Regions from separate parts of the Homo sapiens genome. Here region 2 is linked to region 1. Evidence: promoter capture Hi-C in 16 types of primary human blood cells and fetal thymus (Javierre and others, 2016). All regions are on one chromosome and are shown on one strand. The core of a region is centred on a gene start or on the middle of the fragment in contact, and the rest is flanking DNA. Distances in the headings are between cores, read along the strand shown.

What was found. Contacts are between HindIII fragments. The CHiCAGO score rates a contact against its expected background, and 5 or more counts as called.
Region 2: a fragment that was not itself captured here is called in contact with the fragment with the promoter of MRPS18A in region 1 in 1 of 17 cell types (monocytes); the score reaches 5.3 in monocytes.

What each region holds. Positions count from the first base shown.
Region 1 is chr6:43,684,589-43,691,221 of GRCh38, reverse strand. MRPS18A (mitochondrial ribosomal protein S18A) reads left to right here and starts at 3,431. Exons shown (of 6, transcript NM_018135.4): 1 at 3,431-3,554. The coding sequence starts at 3,443. It overlaps LOC124901320 (a long non-coding RNA gene), which reads right to left and starts at 2,260. Exons shown (of 2, transcript XR_007059586.1): 1 at 1,883-2,260; 2 at 1,329-1,551. RefSeq lists enhancers at 3,061-3,672, 3,618-3,677. The HindIII fragment of the contact is 1,093 bases long and covers 3,136-4,228 here.
Region 2 is chr6:43,812,085-43,818,717 of GRCh38, reverse strand. The region is part of intron 1 of LOC105375070 (a long non-coding RNA gene); the gene reads right to left. Among named protein-coding and RNA genes, the nearest start is that of LINC02537, 37 kb to the left of the region's middle. RefSeq lists enhancers at 1,385-1,444, 1,565-1,614. The HindIII fragment of the contact is 838 bases long and covers 2,474-3,311 here.

The sequences.
Region 1 (6,633 bases), core at 2,182-4,681:
ACTGGTACAATCATTATGGAAAATTGTTTGACAGTATCTAGCCTGGCCTTTGGGCCAGACATGGTGACTCGTGCCTGTAATCTCAGCAGTTTGGGAGGCTGAGACAGGCAGATTGCTTGAGCCCAGGAGTTTAAGACCAGCCTGGGCAACATGGGAAAACCCCACCTCTGCAAAAAATACAGAAAATTAGCCGGGCATAGTGTCATGTACCTGTAGTCCCAGCTACTCAGGAGGCTGAGGTGGGAGAATCACCCGTGCCCAAGAAGTCCAGTCTACCGTGAGCCATGATCACGCCACTGCACTCCAGCCTGGGTGACAGAGCAAGACTCTGTCTCAAAAAAAAAAAATTTAATTTAAAAAGGCTTTTGTAAAAACTGTCAAGGCAATATCTTCTACTAAAGCTGAGCATAGGCATACCCTGCAACCTAACAGTTCTACCGCGAGATAGGCCCCAAAGAAGTTTGTTCTTGTGTTCACCAAGAGTCACGTAGAAGAACGTTACAGCACTCTTTGTAGTAGTCCCAAGTGGCAAGTATCTAAATTCTATCAACAGAAAAAAAAGTGATTTTTTAAAATATAGTATATTCACAGTGGAATATTATATAAAGGTCAAATGCAGGGAAAAGTAATGTATTGTGCTAAAAGTCAGGATAATGATTATCCTTGCGGGGTAGTGTCTGGAAGGGGACACAATGGGGTGTTCTAGAGTGCCAGTCAAGTTCTGCTTGAACATGCCACTCCACTCCAGTATGGGTAGTGTGTCCCTTTGCGAAAATTCATCAAGCAGTACACTGATGATTTGTGTGTTTTGTTGTTTTTTGTTTGTTTGTTTGTTTGGGTTTTTTGTTTTTTTTTTTGAGACAGTCTCACTCTGTTGCCCAGGCTGGAGTGCAATGGCGTGATCTCGGCTCACCGCAACCTCCACCTGCAGGGTTCAGGTGATTCTCCTGCCTCAGCCTCCTGAGGAACTGAGATTACAGGAGCCTACCACGCCCAGCTAATTTTTGTATTTTTAGCAGAGATGAGGTTTCACCATGTTGGCCAGGCTGGTCTCGAACTCCTGACCTTAAGTGATCCACCTGCCTCGGCCTCCCAAAGTGCTGGGATTACAGGCGTGAGCCATTGTACCCAGCCTGTGTATTTTTCTTACACAGGTAATACTTTAATTAAAAGATGTGTTGTTTTTTAAAGCTAGTCTCCTGATCCAAACCTGGTCTCACAGAATTGTAGGGACTAATCATAAATGGATTCAGAAAAATAAGATATTATAAGGCAAAGAATATCCACAGTATTATTTCATCTTGCTAAATGTAAACAATGCTTATCTCTGGATTTTAGATGACATTTATTTTCTTTTTACTTTATTTATTGTTTCATTTTTCTACAATGATCACATGTTACCTGTCATAGTTGTTTTTTAAAATAAAATTTGTTTATGATAAGTTAAGATAAGATAATGAGAAGAGGGTTGGCACTCGAATGCTTTAGCTCACTGTGTCCAAAGCAAGCCCTGGGTGGGGCTCTGTTGCTGCCCTTGTCTCTACTGGATTCCTGGAAGTTGGAAATGGGTGAAGAAACAGAGGATGTAGTACAAACACAAAAGGTCATCTATACATCTATAAGCTCAAGGTCATCTATGCAGAACAAACTTGGAAGCTATAGGGAGAGTCAAAGCTTTCTTGATCCTGGCTGGGACACCTAGACCTACACCTCACTAAGACCCTCTGCTTCACTCCTAATCCATGTGTCAGTCTCTACCACCTTGATTGACTTTTCTTTTAAGTTTCCCCTTCACCGGGTTTACCTTTGCTAAATGAGATGTTTTAACGTAACCCAATGCTGCATTTCTCCTGTTCTCCCTGTCTATGGTGATGCCACTCACATTTTCCATACAGCAGCTGCTCTGCATCCTCCTATTAGGGTGACGGTCCCAACTGGATGATGGGCTCCTCTCCTACTCATCAGAAAACATGCTATGTCATTTAATAAGCCTGATTTTCCCATCTTGAATCAGAGAAGGATAGGAAGAACTGAGTTGTGAATGATTTTCCTTTCCTGTGGAGCTCCAGAGGAACATCCTATACGTCTCACAAATCTGAAAGAGGAAAAACTGGCAGTTGTATTTTCTCTTTGGTACCATAAGCTTCCTTACAACACAAGTGAGTCCAACTTGTGAAAAGAGTCATCTCCATAACTGCTCTATTAACTAGCTTATGTTTATTGAGCCCTTTTGTTTTGTTTTGTTTTGTTTTGTTTTGTTTTTGAGACGGAGTTTCACTCTTGTCGCCCAGGCTGGAGTGCAATGGTGTGATCTTGGCTCACTGCAACCTCCGCCTCCTGGGTTCAAGCGATTCTCCTGCCTCAGCCTCCCAAGTGTCTGGGATTACAGGTGCCCGCCACCACACCCACCTAATTTTTGTATTTTTAGTAGATAGGGTTTCACCATGTTGGTCAGGCTGGTCTTGAACTCCTGACCTCAGGTAATCCACCCGCCTCAGCCTCCCAAAGTGCTGGGATTACAGGCATGAGCCACCACACCCGGCCGATCACTTATGTTTTATCACATCTAATCTTCAGGGTCTAGTCCTCCCCTAGGCCCTATAAAATAGATTCTACTCATTCATTCAACAAGTATATATTGTACTCTTATTATGTGTCAGGAACTATTCTAAGTGCTGGAGATGTGCGAGTCAACAGAAAACAATGTTCCTGACTTCATGGAGCTTACAGTCTGGTGAGAAGACACATACAAAACAAACATAAAACTGAAATTGTCCCAAGCACTAAGATGGAGAGGCATCTGGTGCTGAGAATGGGCAGTCAAGCAAAACTGTGGAAATAAGGTTTGAGGTGAGCTCTAAGAAATAAGCAGAAGCTAACTAGACAGCTAAAGAGCAGACAAAGGAAATAGCTTGTATCAAGGCCCTGGGGCTAGAGAGAGGTCTAAGTATATGCAAATCAAAGATCAGTGTGGCAGTGGTCAGGGAAGAAGGGGGTATCAATTCTATCCCAGGTCTGCCTGATATCCGATACTCCAGAGCCAGAGTTCCTAACCATTTCAGCCTCTCCCGTAGAGGTCTAGCCCCAGTCACAGAAGCTAAAAGTCCACAGCTCACGTGCAGTGAAGAGAAAGCTTTAAAGACATAGGTGGGGTGTTGCGTGCGATTTTCCTAAGGAAGCCTTCCAGGAAACGAATGCAACCTTGAAGACTTGTAGGCATTGGCAGACAGGAGCTAGAAGACCTCCCCTAGATCCTTAACACGAAATATAGGCTTGACGCAGAAGCCTCTCTTCGTATCCCAAAGCGGACAGGTGAGAGAAATGATGTGACAGGAGCAAGCGAACTACAACCCCGCCCCGCCGTTCCTGCCCCACCACTGCGGCGGCGGGCGCTACGTTCCGGAAGCGGAAATGGACGAGAGGTCAGGGTAGGTTTTTGAAGATGGCGGCCCTCAAGGCTCTGGTGTCCGGCTGTGGGCGGCTTCTCCGTGGGCTACTAGCGGGCCCGGCAGCGACCAGCTGGTCTCGGCTTCCAGCTCGCGGGTTCAGGGAAGGTGAGTCATGCGTCCCAGCAACCTCCTGAAATTAAGAAGAGCGGCAGAGACTGCTTCCGCCAGCCCCGGTGCGCTCCTTCCTACCTTTCCTTCGTCCGATTCTGAAACTTTGGAGGTACCGGCTCCCCAGGCGTGCTTAAAAGCCCCTTCCACACCCTGGTGCCTTATCTTGATCTCCTGCCCCTTGTGAGTATCTTCACAAGGCGGAGGAGGACGGAGAGAAAAGCCTGCTTACTTAGCAGGAGCAGACACTAAACCTGTCCTAGGGCTCAGAAAAGTTTTCGGAAAGGGTTTGCATGTTAATTCTTCCTTCCATGTTCTCCGAATCGCAGTCTCTTTTATTAAAGAGTCTCTGGATCACGAAGGAAGGCCATCTGGGTACCCTCCCAGAGCCTCCCTTTCCACTTTCCCTTCTCAAAATGCTGTGATCTGATGGCGGCGTTCTCTGCCCCGGGCCGCTAGTCTCCCTGTGAGGGGGAGGCCAAAGTGGAAAGGCCATTGAATAGCTGAGACATAGGCAAATGCAGGATGGTAGTTCAGCTTTTCATTAATCTTAATCTGGGAAAGCGGCCTGATTCGAGCATCAACTGAGAGTTTACTGAATGCCAAGTGCTATGCTTCAAGCTGTGAAGGAATTCTGGAGACAGAAAATACAGCCCTTTTTCTGAAAAGCTTAGGTTCTAATGAGATTATGTATATACACACTCCAATAAATGCAAGTTAGCCTTTTACGTGACGAAGTACAGGGAGACTCAGTTACTGGAAACGGCAAACCCAGTTGGAAGTTTTCATAAAGAGGATGTGTCTTGAGCAGGCTCACAAAAGGATGGAATCTGGCGGAGAGTGAAACGGTCTTTTAGGACATAGCCTTCCTTTGTGTACTCCTGGAAGCAGGAAAGGATGAGTGATGTGCAAAAGAAGAGATGTGGGGTTTTTTGAGGATCTGGCATAGTATTGGGCAGCATATCCTTTAACGAAAGCTGAGAAGTATCCAGTGGAAAAGAGTGATCATTGTTGTCAGAGGGAGCAGAAAAGTCTAAAAAGGGCCTAATGAAGGGGCCATTGGATTTGTCTCAGAAGAGGTCTCTTTGTAGCTTTCAAACAGCAATTTCAATAGAGTGGCAAACAAGGAATCCAGTTTGGAGAAATGAAAGAGATAGTTGATGAAGAGATGGAAATAGTAAGTATGTTTGAAGAATTTAGCCCGTAAGGGAAGTGGAGCATTTGCTAGAAAAAAAAGTCTGGATATTGCCTGATTAACTTATCCATTAGTAGACCCATTAATAAAGACACTAAAGAAATCATGCAGATGATAGAGAGGACTTGGATGTTTCATTTGTTCCCATGCTGCAAAATAGGCATATCTCCATACCATTTTGGGGAGTCTACCAAGTGTCAAACACTATTGGCTACAATTTGCATATTCTTATGAAATTCAAAGTTGAGGCAGATTTTGCTATGCTTCCAGAAAAAAAGGCAAGAGGAATCGTTTTGTTTTAACAACAAATATTTGAAGTTAGACTTAATTTTTTCCTTTGGAGAGTTTGTGAAATGATGGACTGTAAGCCAGGTACAGTGGTACATATCTTTAATCCCAGCACTTTGGAAGGCCAAGGTGGGAGGATCACTTGAGCCCAGAAATTGGAGTCTAACCTGGGCAACGTAGTGAGAACGCCCACCTCTTTAAAAAAAGTAAAAAAGGATGGACTGTAAATCAAATGGGTCTCTGAAGTCCTTCATCTAAATGTTAGGTTGAATTAATATGATTCTACATGAAGGCACTACCATATTCTATATTCTTAAGAATCACCTATCTTCAAAGCTTGTAAATGAAAACATTTTCTTTTGCTAGTCTATGCATTATGTGTAAGGCATAAAGTATTATACATATAGCTAATTTTGACTAGTCTCAGCTGGTATATGTGACACCCAAACAATATTGTACACATAGAATTTAAAGTTGTGGGAAAGAAGCTGGTTCTCTTGCTGAAAATATTCAGGCATCCTACTTTTCAAAGTATCAGATAATAATACATAATTTTAGTCAGCTCTTGAGGACTGAGCACCAATTTTCCTGTCTATGAAGACTTTCAGTCTAAAACAGTGATTTTCAACTGGGGGGCAATTTTGTCCCCCAGTAACAATTGGCCATGTCTGCAGACATTTTTGGTTGTCACAACTGGTACTACTGGCATCTGGGGGGTAGAGGCGAGGGACGCTGCTAAACATAATGCACAAGTCAGTTCCCCACAACAAAGAACCATCTGGCCCAAAATGGCAGTCCTGCTGCTGTTGAGAAAGCCTGGTTTAAAGTTTGACCAGAGAGATACACAAAGCCAAAAAAAGGTTATTATGGGAAAAGCAAGACTGAAGGAGGACGAAAATAGAAATTGTGACTTACTGTGCCTGCTTCAAATACTGTGCTAGGTTTTCCACATACATTTATTCAGTCTTCTCAAAAACACCTTAAAGGTAGATATTAACTGTCCTCATTTTTATAAATGAGGAAATGCCGTTCCAAGGGGTTTAATAGCTTGCCCAGCATCACCTGTCTAATAAGTGATGGAGTTGGAAGTAGAGCCAGCCCTCTTCCCTCTCCACCAGTAACATCACCTTGGTATTCCATGGCAGGGCCTCCCTTATTGTTCCCTCCTTCCCTGAAAGCTCTTAGCAGTTAACTTGCCAAAGACCATTTAGTGCCATTATGGTTGGCACTGCCAGATTTAGCAAAGACTGTGTTGGATCTCATTCCTCCCTTATCCCTCTTAGAGCCCTTGTGAAGGAAATGTATTTAAAATAAAAAAACAAACATATTATTATATAAATTAAGACATGATTTGTCAGACACTTAGAGAAAGGTATATTGAAGTGAGTAAAGGCCAAAGGGAATTTGCTTCATCTCTTTCACAGTCAGTTAAGAAGGCCTTCTGGAAGACCTAACGTTTCAGACAAGGGTATGCCTGGCAGGTTGGGCAGTCCCATATAAAAGCTTTGAGAGAGGAGTGAGTTGGAGTCTTTAAAGAATTCAGGGGACATAGTCCAGAGTAACCTGCTAGTGGGAAGAAATTTTTGTGCAGCA
Region 2 (6,633 bases), core at 1,643-4,142, 130 kb before region 1:
CCAGTGTCTATTTCTGTCAAGACCCACTTGTAGCCCCTCAGGGTACCACTCACTTGCCAGCTTTCTTTAGGGCCTTCCCACCAGGGAAATGGCCACATAGCCATTGGCAGTCTCTGGCTCTCTTGCTGACAAACAGAACAGTCTTATTAGCAGTTTGTGCCGGAGAGGGTACAAAAGGAACATGTCTAGATCCAGCCCTTCTCTGCACCCCCATCTCTGCTCATTTCAAGGACCCAGGTGAACACCTCAAAGAAACAGAGATATCTGCTTGTCAATTCCAGTCACCTTGCAAACATGGAGAGGGGCTTTCTTAGTGGGCGTTGACATGTTCTACTTTAAGGCACCCCTCAGATTTCCACAGGGCCATGCCCCGTAAGGGCATTTCTTCAATAAGCCAGGTTTCTATTGCCCTTCTGCCTAACCATCTGGCCAGGCCATTGGCCAATGCCCATGAGTCGGTAAAAACCCAACCACAGGGGCTTCTGGCATCGTTCAATTCTTCCATCGCTGTTAGGAAAGCAGCATGTGATTCAGCCCACCAAGCTGATTAGTTTTTACCTTCTTGGATCATAGTAGCAGCCTTCCAAACAGGAGGTTGTCCATTTACCTTGGAACTGCCATCCACAAACCAAGCAGCTATTTGCTGGTCAGTTGAGAGCACTGTAGGATCCACAGCTCCTCACACAGTTCCACAGTCAGTCCTAGGGTGTAATGAGGCTCCCTGCTCATATCTCCTCCTTACATTCCTCAGGTTGCATGATTCTGTATAAGCCATTTCCATTTTATTATGGAACCCTCCTGGGCACTGCTGTCCTCATTAGAGTGTTTTTCTGACATCACCCGGGACAGCATGGATGTTTCAGGTGTCAAGATCATTTTATGTCCTTCAGACATGGGGTACCAAGGATACAATGAACAGATGCGTAAGACAAGGTATGCAGGAAGGACGTGGAGCTTCCATGCCCTCCCTGGGCGCACCGCCCTCCAGGAACGGCCATGTTTCCAGCTATCCAGAAGCTTCCCACTTTTCTAATGCTCACTAACTACTCCTTCCATAATCCACAAGGATCCTTGCCCAGGACTCTTTTTAAAACTCAGAACCACGTTTTTCCCTTCTCAAGGCCCCCGTGCTCTTGGCTTTCTCAGGTGGGACAAAGTGGCCCCAGCAGTCTGGTTCACAAGCTTCCTTTGTGCCCCAAGTGTTGTTTTATGGGGAGAGGCCCTTTGAACACCCCAGCAGCAGTGGAGAGGGGAGGGCCCATCCCACCTCCAGGGCTCCCTGGGCCTCTGTGTCATCTACTGCTGCCCTCTGGGTTTGCAGGCTGCTCTCCTGCCAGGGGGCAGCAAGGAGCCCTACTCTTCGTACACTCCCCACCCGTGCTGTGTCATCAGGCCCAACTGCAGCCTCTGGATCCCTTGATCTTGACTGGCTATGATCACAGCTAAACAAGCCTGGGTTGCCCCTAGCATCTTTCACAAACCTCTACCTATTTTTATCTTCCAGAAACTCTCTTTACAGGCCCGTAGTCCTGTCTCACATCTGTCCTTCCCTTCTCTGTTCAAGCCTCCTTAACACAGCAATTTGGCAAAGAGCTCTCCTGCCACACACTGATTTCTGTGGTCACCTCCCTTCTTCCTTCATTACTGGGACGCAGACTACCCTGTGTGGGATTGCACAGTGTCATGTACATTTTTGAGAGCTTCCCAGCCCTCTTGAGACAGCTATCCCACCCAGAGATTCGTGGCATGGAACCCTGCCTGTCTTTTTGCTGAAATATTGGCAGTCTGACTTTGGAAAGTCTGTTCCAGGCCCAAGTCTGTTCCAGGCCCTCCACAGCTCTCATCTGGATGGCTGCAAGAACCTCCTTGCTGGTCTCCCTGCTGCACTCTGAGCTTCTCACGGCCTCTCCCACCCACCCAATCTCTGTACCAGCATTGAGTAATATTTCTAAATTGCACAGCCAGCCCTGCCCCTGCACTGGCAGAAGCCAGGATAAATTGGTTAGACAAGGTTGACAGCATGACTTTCAAAGCCCACCGTGGCCTGGTTTCTTCCCCTCTCCACCTGCACCTCCTCTCTCTCTCTCTCTGTCTCTCTCTCTCCCCATCACTTAACTAAATATCTAATTGTGCTCACTTTCCTGGACATACTAGGTTATTTCACATGTCTATTTCTGCTTCTGCTCCTGCTGTCAATCTACCTAGGATGACGTTGCAACTGTTCTTGATACAGCTGCTCTAAAACTCACTCAGGAGCCACCTTTTCCAGGAACCCTTCCCTGAGCCCCCAAGTTAGGCCAACTCTGCTCCTCTGGTTTCTCTTTGCATCCTGAGCCTATCCTAGCTCTTACCACACAAGGCAGGCACTGCTCATCCTACCTAACAGTGATTCTGCTCCACCCTTTCTTCCTTGCCACCAGAACCTCACCTTTTCGGGTGACAATGTATCTAGGCCCAGAAGATGAGTCAAGCTTCATCTAAGACATCACCAGCATCCTGTTCCTATTTGCTAGTCCCTCAGTTTCCCAGCCTCCCTGAAGCATTTCCTCTCAGTTGTGCCCAATGATACATGAGAGGTCATTTTCAGAGGGGGTATCTGGGAAACACGTTTCTTCCCTGATAAAAATAGAGCCCCTTTCTCTCCTTGGCTTTTTTCTTTTCTGCCTTGAATATAATTATAGGAGTCACCATAGCAGCCATCTTGTGACCAGGAGGCAACAAGCATGGAGACAAAAATTAACACGTTGAAGATGGCAGAGCAGAAGGATAGAAAAAGGCTGAGTTTTGATAGCATCATTGATGTCATCCTTTCACCAAAGCTGGAACCCTCTGCCTCCAGACTTCCAGTGATGTGATATTGATCAATGTCTTTATTGCTCAAGCCACTGTCTGTTGGGTATTCTGTTGCTTGATACCAAATATATTCCCAACTGATGTGGGCTGTCATAAAAACAATCTTGGTATCTGCCTCCATGACTAGACTCCTTGAGGGCAGGAATGGTGTCTTATTTTTCTTAGTATTCCCAGAGCCTAACACAATGACTCAATAAATTATGGTTCGAAGGAATTAAACTGATGACTTCCCTTCCCTCTCGATTACAAATAACAGAACAGGTCCACTTTAAATTTTTTTTAATTTTTAAATTTTTTTTTTTTAGAGACAGGGTTGCACTATGTTGCCCAGGCTGGACTTGAACTCCTGGGTTTAAGTGGTTCTCTCACCTCAGCCTCCTGAGTAGCTGGGACTACAGGTGCACTCCATCAAGACCAGCTGGTTGCCTTTAGCCCAGGTTTGCCCTGTCACTGAAGCTTTTCCAACCAATCCCTCCTTCTTCCATTCACTTCCCCCACCCTCTGAAAGATTAAATGGTCCCCAGAGCCAGTTGAGAACAGTCCAGATGCTCTGCCCTAGCAAGTCCTCACAGGTGAGGTCCCCACCCGCTGTGTTGCCTTGGGCCAAGTGGTCATCGAGAAGGCGCCATCCACCTCCTCCTGCTGCCTCCATGGCTGGAGGACAGGACACACCCTGTTAGCCCTGATATCTGGATCCAGATTTCTGCTGTTCCAGAGAACCTCACCTTCACTCTCTTTAGGAATAGAACTTCCTTGAAGCCAAAAAGTTGGCTTTCAGAACAGGCCCCAGGCCTAGGCAAGTACAGACACCTGATTAACAAAGAGGCCATCTGGGTCAGCCACTCCCACTCCAACTGCCATACCTACCTGCCTTTCCTGAGCTTGGCTTGGGAAAATCTTAAGTTCCAGAAGGAACCACCACCCTGTGCCCTAGGTCTGCTCATTAAATATAGATCTAATTATTTATGGTACAAAATATACTTTTAAAACCTAATCAGTGTTGAGCACTTAAAGACTGATAGCATTTCGTATCGATTACTGGGGGCTCCAAATATGTGTACTAAATACTGAATGCAGAACTCAGCTTCTTATAAAACTTCACAGAAAGTATCACCCAAGGACAGCTCTCTGACTCGCCCACATTGACATTTGGTAACTGGCCTCGCCTAGGGACTCACCCATCACCCCTCAGTCCCCCTGTGAAGCCTTCAGACAGAGGCCCACCTCATGGAGGGCTCCAGCCGGGTGCTCTCCAATGTGCCTGCCCATTTCTGCTCCCACCAGCCAAATCAAGCATGTCCCAAAAGCCATTATTTCTGTCCCCAAACCTGTTTGCCAGTTGTGCTTGTTATTGTAAGTATGCAGTTTAATAAAATATGACACAAAACAATGAAATATGATGTGAAAAGAAAGAGTTTTCTTCTTTTCTTAAAAATCCAGGTTGAACACTTTGGAAGAGTTTGGTAACAGGAAACAGCTGAAAAAATTGCCATTGAGCAAGGCATAGAAGAGACAGACTATAAAGAATGGTGCTGGCGGGCAGGGTGGAGGGCCTATTCTGGAAGGAATCTACCCTTGATTGGTTCTTAAGAGCCAGGAAGTTCTCACTCCACTTTAAATAAACCAAAACCAGAACCCAAAGAAGTGAATATAATGGGTTAGTTTATGCCAGAAGACCATTCATGGCACAGGAGGGCCTGTGCCCAGGGGAAGGCTTCATTCATACATCAAAATGCTGGCACATGTTAGCACATCCATAGGGCTCCAATTAAAATGAAATCTTTACATTGTACAGGTTTTCTTTCTTTATGATCATTTGTCAAACTAACCAACTACAAGCCTTGATGGTATTGGATAGGAGGGCCTCACCGCACCAATTGTAAGTCCTGCAGCAAAGGCTTTATCACTGAGCCCCTGTTTCCTTGTGGATTTTCATCTGCCCCACCTCAGAGGACCGTGAAGATTACCGGGCGAGCGAAGCAGCCAGTAAAGTGCCTGTCGTTAGCAAGTATCAATTCTCCATTCCCATAAATGGTCTCACCATCCAGCCAATTAAGCAACTCAGAAATCTCGGAATCATCCCCAGCAGCTCCCTCTCCTTCCCTTCCGAACTCCTTCTACACCTCGCCCATCACCAAAACCCTGCCAAGTCTCCTGCTGAAAAACTCCTGATTATCCTTGGAGCTCCAGCCTCATAGAAGCTGCCCTGGACCAAGCCATCACCCTCTCTCGCCTGAGATCCCTACCTGGCCCTGCTGCTTTCACTCTCACCCCCGCCCCAGAATCCAGCCTCCTCCAGCAGCAAGAGGGATGTTTTAAAACATGACTGTAATCATGTCACTCCTTTGCTTAAAACTCTCTGGCAACTTTCAAACCTCCTTCGAATGACTGAGAAAGCCATACACACACACACACACACACACACACACACACACATACACAGCTGCACCCGCCACCTGTCAGTTCCTCAGAATGCACTCTGCTCCTTCGCACTTCAGGACCTTTGTACACACTGTCCCTGCAGCTTAGCACAGTCCTCACCCCTTCCTGGCTCGTTAACGCCTACTCATCCTGCAGGCCTCTACTTAAATGCCATTTTCTCAGAAATACTTTCCCTTTCACTTATACTAAAAATATTTATTCAGCACCTTCTAATGCCAGGCATTATTCTAGGTCATGTCTTGGGAAGACAATCATGAACAAGACAGACAAAATCCCTGCCCTTGCCAGGTGCAGTGGCTCATGCCTCTTCGTGAACAGAGTGCCGAAGCCAATGGCTCAGCACTTTGAGGGGCTGAAGTGGGGGGATCGCTTGAGGCAGGAGTTCAAGGCCAGCCTGGGCAATATAGCAAGACCCCATCTCTACAAAAAATACCAAAAAATTAGCCAGGCACAGTGGTGTGTGCCTATAGTCCCAGCCTTGGGAGGCTGAGACAGGAGGGTCCACTGAGCCCAGGAGGCTGCAGTGAGCTATGATCATACCACTGCACTCCAGCCTGGGAAACAGGGCAAGACTCTGTCTCTTAAATAAATAAATAAATAAACCCCTGCCCTCACAAAGATTACATCCTAGTGGGGAAGAAAGGGAATGAATAATTAAATAAATACTATTTTCAGATGGTGATAATAAAGGCATCTGATCACAATATGATTCATTTTATTATTAGAAGAAATAAATTATTACAAAAAATTCATATTTTTAGTCGCTTAAGGAAATTAGGTTTGAACAATATATCAAAGGCATTTATTTATACCAGTGACTGTTGAAATTTAGTTCTAGAATGTTGTTTCTGTTTGTACAATTTTTAAAATGTGACTGTGGCATGTTCCTTCAGTCAAAAAATAAAATAGAATACAGTGGCACCACTCATGGATACACACACATGAAGACACAGACATTTGAGTCGCTTTTGAGGTCACACACATTTGAGGTCAAAAGTGACATGTAGAGACATCACAGGCTCTCATGGGTATACATAAAAACACACCAGACACAAAACATGTCCCACACACACACACACACACACAGTCATTTGGAAACACACAGAGACAAGAGGCCAGGATGTTAGCACCACTACCCCTGACCTCCCTGGCACCTCCTACATCCCCACCTGCCAAGCTTGACCCTGACTGCTTGAGGCACCATTGCTGAAGGTGGCATGTCTCCCTCCTCCAAGGACATCTTCAGGCCCTAAATTCTGCCCCTACTACCAACAATTACCCAGCAACCTGAGCCCTGGCAGAGGCCGAGCTTAAATTAAAATAAAGACAGATCAAGGT